2 separate regions of the Homo sapiens genome follow, and region 2 is linked to region 1. Evidence: promoter capture Hi-C in 16 types of primary human blood cells and fetal thymus (Javierre and others, 2016). All regions are on one chromosome and are shown on one strand. The core of a region is centred on a gene start or on the middle of the fragment in contact, and the rest is flanking DNA. Distances in the headings are between cores, read along the strand shown. Region 1 holds the start of DUSP26 (dual specificity phosphatase 26). Region 2 overlaps MAK16 (MAK16 homolog).

The links. The method cuts DNA at HindIII sites, captures the fragments that hold promoters and counts their contacts. A CHiCAGO score of 5 or more calls a contact.
Region 2: a fragment that was not itself captured here is called in contact with the fragment with the promoter of DUSP26 in region 1 in 2 of 17 cell types (non-activated CD4 T cells and total B cells); the score reaches 7.0 in non-activated CD4 T cells.

Annotation. Positions count from the first base shown.
Region 1 is chr8:33,598,574-33,601,625 of GRCh38, reverse strand. It overlaps DUSP26 (dual specificity phosphatase 26), which reads left to right and starts at 1,603. Exons shown (of 4, transcript NM_024025.3): 1 at 1,603-1,961. The HindIII fragment of the contact is 17,028 bases long and covers 1-3,052 here.
Region 2 is chr8:33,488,098-33,491,149 of GRCh38, reverse strand. MAK16 (MAK16 homolog) reads right to left here. Exons shown (of 10, transcript NM_032509.4): 2 at 2,723-2,772; 3 at 2,521-2,630; 4 at 2,352-2,416; 5 at 2,011-2,162; 6 at 811-865. Among named protein-coding and RNA genes, the nearest start is that of MAK16, 4.4 kb to the right of the region's middle. The HindIII fragment of the contact is 5,323 bases long and covers 1-3,052 here.

The DNA.
Region 1 (3,052 bases), core at 354-2,853:
TGGCATGATCTCAGCTCATTACAACCTCCACCTTCCATGTTCAAGTGATTCTCCCACCTCAGCTTCCCAAGTAGCTGGGACTACAGGCGCCTGCCACCACACCCGGCTAATTTTTGTTTTTTAGTAGAGATGGGGTTTCACCATGTTGGCCAGGCTGGTCTCGAACTCCTGACCTCAGGTGATCTGCCCACCCTGGCCTCCCAAAGTGCTGGGATTACAGGTGTGAGCCACCATGCCCTGCCTCTTTGTTTTAAATGACAAGGATTTCATTTCATATTTAAACTGCTGTAACACAAGGGACAAGGAAAAGTGAAAAGAATTTTGTTTCTCTAGAGAAAAAAAAAGGCTAGGCGGTACATTAAACTTGGATGGCAGCCTGTCATGGAACCTGGGGATTGGTCACATTGGCCAGTACTTTCTCTAACCCAGAGATCAAAACCTGATCTGCCACCACTGCTGGGAATGGAGTCAGTCCTGGTTTCAGCTATAGCTGACACCATCAGCTTCAATCTGAGCCAATCTACTTTCTGCCTTTCTTCTAGTAGACAGCGAGAGTTCAAGCCAGCCTAGTTCTCAACAGCATCATCTGCTAACATTTATCATCTCCCCCACTTCCCTCTCACACAATAAGGTAGGCACTGGGGAAGGTAGCACAGTCCCTGCCTTCAAAGTGCTTACAATCTTGGTGCTTACAATAAAAATGCCGATCAAGTGAATATGTCACTAGAAGGCAGCACATGAGAAATTAATATGAAGATGGCCGGACACAGTGGCTCATGCCTGTAATCTGAGCACTTTGAGAGAAGGTGGGTGGATCACCTGAGGTCAGGAGTTCAAGACCAGCCTGGTCAACATGGTGAAACCCCATCTGTACTAAAAAACAAACAAACAAAGAAAAAATATATACAAAAAATTAGCCAGGCATGGAGGCGGGCGCCTGTAATCCCAGCTACTTGGGAAGCTGAGGCAGGAGAATGGCTTGAACCTGGGAGGCGGGTTACAATGAGCCAAGATTGCGCCACTGCACTCCAGCCTGGGCGACAGAGTGGGACTGCATCTCAAAAAAGAAAGAAAGAAATATGAAGATGAATGTTTTGAGAGTCTGGGGAAAGTGAAGTTCACTATGAGCTGAGCTGGTGGAAATGGCTTCCTGAATGAAGGAAATCCATGGTGCCTTCTCCATTTTGTGGGAGGCACTGGTTTAGAGAGTGGTTAAGGACATAAACTGCAAAGCCAGGCTGCATTGTTTGAACAAGCTCAGCTCTGCCAGTAACGAGCTGTGTGACCAGGGCAGAGTACCTAGCCTCTCTGTGCCTAGGTCGCCTCCTCCCTAAAATTAGGACAATAGTAATTATGTCTCCCTCATAGACTTGTGGGGAGTATAAAATGCCTTAAGCTAAATGAAGCACATGGCATATAATGAAGGCTAATGGGGGCTTCGGACCATTGTTCTTTATGACACGGTTTCTTGAGACCGAGGCATGTACAAGCCAGTGCACAGAATCGTGTCTATGTAATTAGTTAATTCTGTCTGGGAGGAGTGTGTGTGTTTAAGACAGTGCCTGGGATGACTTATAATGTAATCTTTAGGCAAAACGCTTTGTAATTGGTGCAGCTCTGAGAACACACGCATGCATTCCAGGCGGTGCTGCTGGGGCTCGGCGGGGCCGTGTCTGGTCTGCAAGGCGCGCGGGCTCGTGGGGGGTTGGCTGGGGAGCCCACGCTGCCTGGCGACTCGGGCCACCGAATGTGAGACCGAGTCCCTTTATGTCACCAGCGCACACGCTGATTTGAACCCTGCTTCGACGTGTGTGTCATGGCTTAAAAATAGCTGCTAATCTGTCAACCTGTCTTGGGCAGAAACAGCGGCGGCGACAGCAGCAGGAGCGTCATGGCCGTGGCGCTGTCTGCGCCGGCGATCCGCCTTTCGGACTGAGGCCCAGCGCAGCGCTTGCAAAGAGGTAGAGGGGCTGCGGCGGGCCTTCGCCTTTTCAGCTGGCTCTCCACGCTGGGGAGAGGCGCCCAGCTAGGGGCGACGGGGGAGGGAGGGGACCGGGAAGCGGGCACCCGAGCCCAGCGAGCCAGCCTCTCTCTCCCGGGCGCCCTCCCTCCGCGCGCGGGGCCCGGCTGCCAGGCTGGCGAGGACTGGGGCGACAGCCATGGACCTGTTACAAAGGCGACCGCAGGCGGAGGGAGGGAGCGGCGGGCCAGGGCCCCTGGAGCCGACGGATGGGATTGGAGAATGCCCAGGGCTGTATCCCTGGACAGAAAGGGGCTTCTGCATCCCCCGGGAAAAACAGCCCCACGGAGATCCTTCTTAGACCTGGGCTCCTTCACGCTTCCCCCATCCCATTCATCATCTCGTAGACAGCAGACTCTCTAAGAGGAAAGGTTGTATTGCAATACAGTAATGGGGTCTTTAGGCCTGGGTGCAAAGGTAGAAGAAGATGATGGTGATAGTGATGGTGGTGATGGTGGTAGTGATGATGGTGATGGTGGTGGTGATGATGGCTGTAGTGCTATATTTCTGTGCTCCTTCCGGACCCAGCCATTGAAAACTCTCTCTCCCTAAACTCCCTAACATCCAATCTTCCCTCACCAATCCTGGTCCTAAAACCCCTGCTTCTAATGCCTTGTAAGTGCTTGGTTTCTCTTGGCACTGGAGCAAGGGAGAGCTGGGCCCTGTCTAGGGGTGTGAGATGGGGACAGAGCATGGGCAGGGACAAAGATGGCCTCTCACTGCTGGTCATAGAGTTGAAGTCCCCCTGGCAGGAGGCCAGGAAGGGAGTGGAAGGGGATTCTGCAGGCTCCAGGACCTCCTGCTTTCAAACAGGCAGGACCACAGGTGTGAGAGGATGGGGAGGGAGGGGGAAGGGGCCTTGCCATTGTTGCCTCCCTGCCTGAAGGTCCCAGGGCAAGCCTCAAACGCTGGTCCTTCCCAGCTCTGCAGCTCAACAGGTAATCTGAGACACACCTGCTAAGCCCCTCGTTATTGACCTCGTGTTTTGTAGGGTCACTTGACTCCAACAGCCATACGGTTGGTAATTCTAAG
Region 2 (3,052 bases), core at 162-2,661, 110 kb after region 1:
ACAATAGAGTACTATCCAGCCATTAAAAAGAATGAGATTCTGTCATTTGTAACAACATGGATGGAACCGGAGGTCATTATGTTAAGTGAAAGAAGCCAGGCACAGAAAGGCAAACACTGCACATTTTCACTTATTTGTGGGATCAAAAAATCAAAACAATTGAACTCATGGATATACAGAGTAGAAGGATGGTTACCAGAGGCTGGGAAGGGTAATGGGGGTGGGGATGATTAATGGGTACCCCCGCTAAAAAAAATAGGAAGAATGAAATAAGACCTAGTATTTGCTAGCAGCACAACAGCGTGACTATAGTCAATTATTTAATTGTACATTTTAAAATAACTGTAAGGATAATTGAACTGTTTGTAACACAAAGGATAAATGCTTGAGGGGACGGATACCCAATTTTCCATGATGTTATTACTCACTGCATGCCTGTATTGTATTTCACTGCAGAAATTCCATTTGATTAGAATGCTCAAAATCTACTAAAGGTTTTATGTAGTATGTAAAATATGCAACATCAAAATTCTGAAGTCTGAAATATTTGACCACAAGAAATTCAGAAAAAGGAGTTGTGGATTCTTTCTGTTCTCCATTACATATATCCCCAAAGCACACATACTTTAACCTGTGCTGAAAATCATAATCTTAAAATATGAAAAATTAAATGTCTTAGGCAACTAATAGTTATCTATTAGTGAACCATTATCCAAGGCCTCAACAGTTTACATAATGATGGTGACTGAATCTATAAGAGACCCCCAGAAAGAAAATGTAGAAGGTATGAATATCTCAACAATAAGTTACCTCTCTTCTTTTCTCCCTACGCTCCACCTTCTTACTCAAAGGAACAAGTTTCCTCCTAAGGGAAAGAAAATATATCAGAAAATCCACTGTCATGTGCTGTGTTCCTTTTTAAGGATGAGAAGAAAAAAGGATTGGAATTGGTGACTAAAATGGAAGTCTACTCATGTGCAGGGCAGGATGGCTGAGCTTCAGGCATTCACGGAGGCTAGCGATTCAAACAAGCCTTGGAGCCCAAGGTTGGTGCTGTAGGGCTCAGCTCAATACAGCAAGATACACTAAACGCTTCTAGAAATTTAATACTATAAAAAGTCATATATTTTTACATGTATTTTAATCCGGCCATTTTTGTTCAGGCATTCTGGGATTCTCAGGGCATTCACCATGCTAAAATTAAGACTTCAGTGAACTAAGAAAAAAGAATTTTCTGTCGAAGTCTGACATCATCTTTAGCATTCTATGTAGATCACAGTCAAAAAGCATTAGGGCCTAACAGTCCTAGAGAAGGTATTCTGTTAATTCTGGGGATTTCATATCACTTTTAAAAATTAGTTTTCAGTGAATCCAGAGTAAAGTTCTTACATTCCTGTATAGTCACATGTCTTAGATCATTTTCAAATCTCTAAAGTTAAGATTCCCTCGGGGGTCATAGAGGAAATTTTCTGAAGGCTGGGCATGGTGGCTCATGCCTGTAATCCCAGCACTTTGGGAGGCTAAGGCGGATCGCTTGAGGTCAGGAATTCTAGACCAGCCTGGCCAACATGGTGAAACCCCATCTCTACTAAAAATACAAAAAAAATTAACCAGGCATGGTGGTCCATGCCTGTAATCCTAGCTGCTCAGGAGGCTGAGGTGGGAGGATTGCTTCAACCGGGGAGATGGAGGTTGCAGTGAGCTGAGGTCGCGCCACTGCAAATTCCAGCCTGGGCGACAGAGTGAGACTCCGTCTTAACAAAAAAGAAAATAAAATTTTCTGAAAGATTTTCAGACAAGGAGGGTGATAATCAAGTTGTATTCTACTGTTTTAAAAGTCCTGCCATATCAAAGGGCACACCTTTAGTCAAAGCTAAAGTTTCTCTTTAGTACATCATAACAGACTCCACAAAGTTGAATAGAAAGCCCCGAAGTTTCACAATTTCTCAACTTCAAAACAAGCTCCATAAAAAGAGAGATTTAAAAATAATGAATGATCCAAATACTTACTGTCGCTTTAGTGTAAGTTTTCTAATTCGAATTAGGTATTGGGTGATCTTGGTGAATCTCTGCTTACATTTGTGTCGAATGAAACGGGGCCAGTAAATCAGATTTTCATCTATTTGCTCCAGTGCTTTCTCATAGTTTTTACTAAGCCGGACCTACCAAACAGAAACAGGAAGTTTGAAGGGCAAGTGTAAATGATTCATTAGGTTTTCACTGTCAGTGACACCCATGGCCTAATGAGGATGGCCTCAAAAGTTAATGGTCATGGAATTGGGCATCATGGTCAAGCATGTGGCTTTGATGCTCTTGATCAGCGGTCACTGTAGTTTTGTTGTAAGGCTTACCCGTTCCCAGAGACGCCGAGGAAAAGCCGCTCGTTCTATAACCTTCATATACAAGTAGCACTGTCCTGAAGATAAAGTAAAATAGCTTTAGTGTTATTTACAGAAACTAAAGAACATCCCTGTAAAAGCTGTGGAGCAGTTCTTCTAGAAGTTAAAACTGGGGAGTTACCTTTCTCTTCTTTAATAGTGGCATACTGACTATTTGCCAGGGGACAGGATGACCGATTACACAGTCCAGTCAGGCTATATTCATTTCGGCAGAAGCTCTGAGTCTTGGTTCTAGAATGGGAGAAAAGAAACAAAGATTATAAAATGGGTTGCCAAAGAGGCAACTGAAGGAATCTTTGACCAAGTTGTAAATTGAGACTCACCTTATTTTGAAGGAACAAAATTGCTTGTTTCCTAGTGTATCCCAGATAACCTGCAAGACAAAGTAAAAGCCCATTTCAAATCCTCTGCCCCAAGAGATACTATATTAATTCAAGAAGGCAATGCCCAAGGACAGGAATGAGAGGAAGAAATGTTTTGTAAAATAGCCTGACTTGTTTACTTTTTAAAATACAAACAGCAAGGCCGGGCACGGTGGCTCACGCCTGTAATCCCAGCACTTTGGGAGGCTGAGTTGGGCGGATCACCTGAGGTGAGGAGTTTGAGACCAGCCTGATTAACATGGAGAAACCCTGTTTATATTAAAAATACAA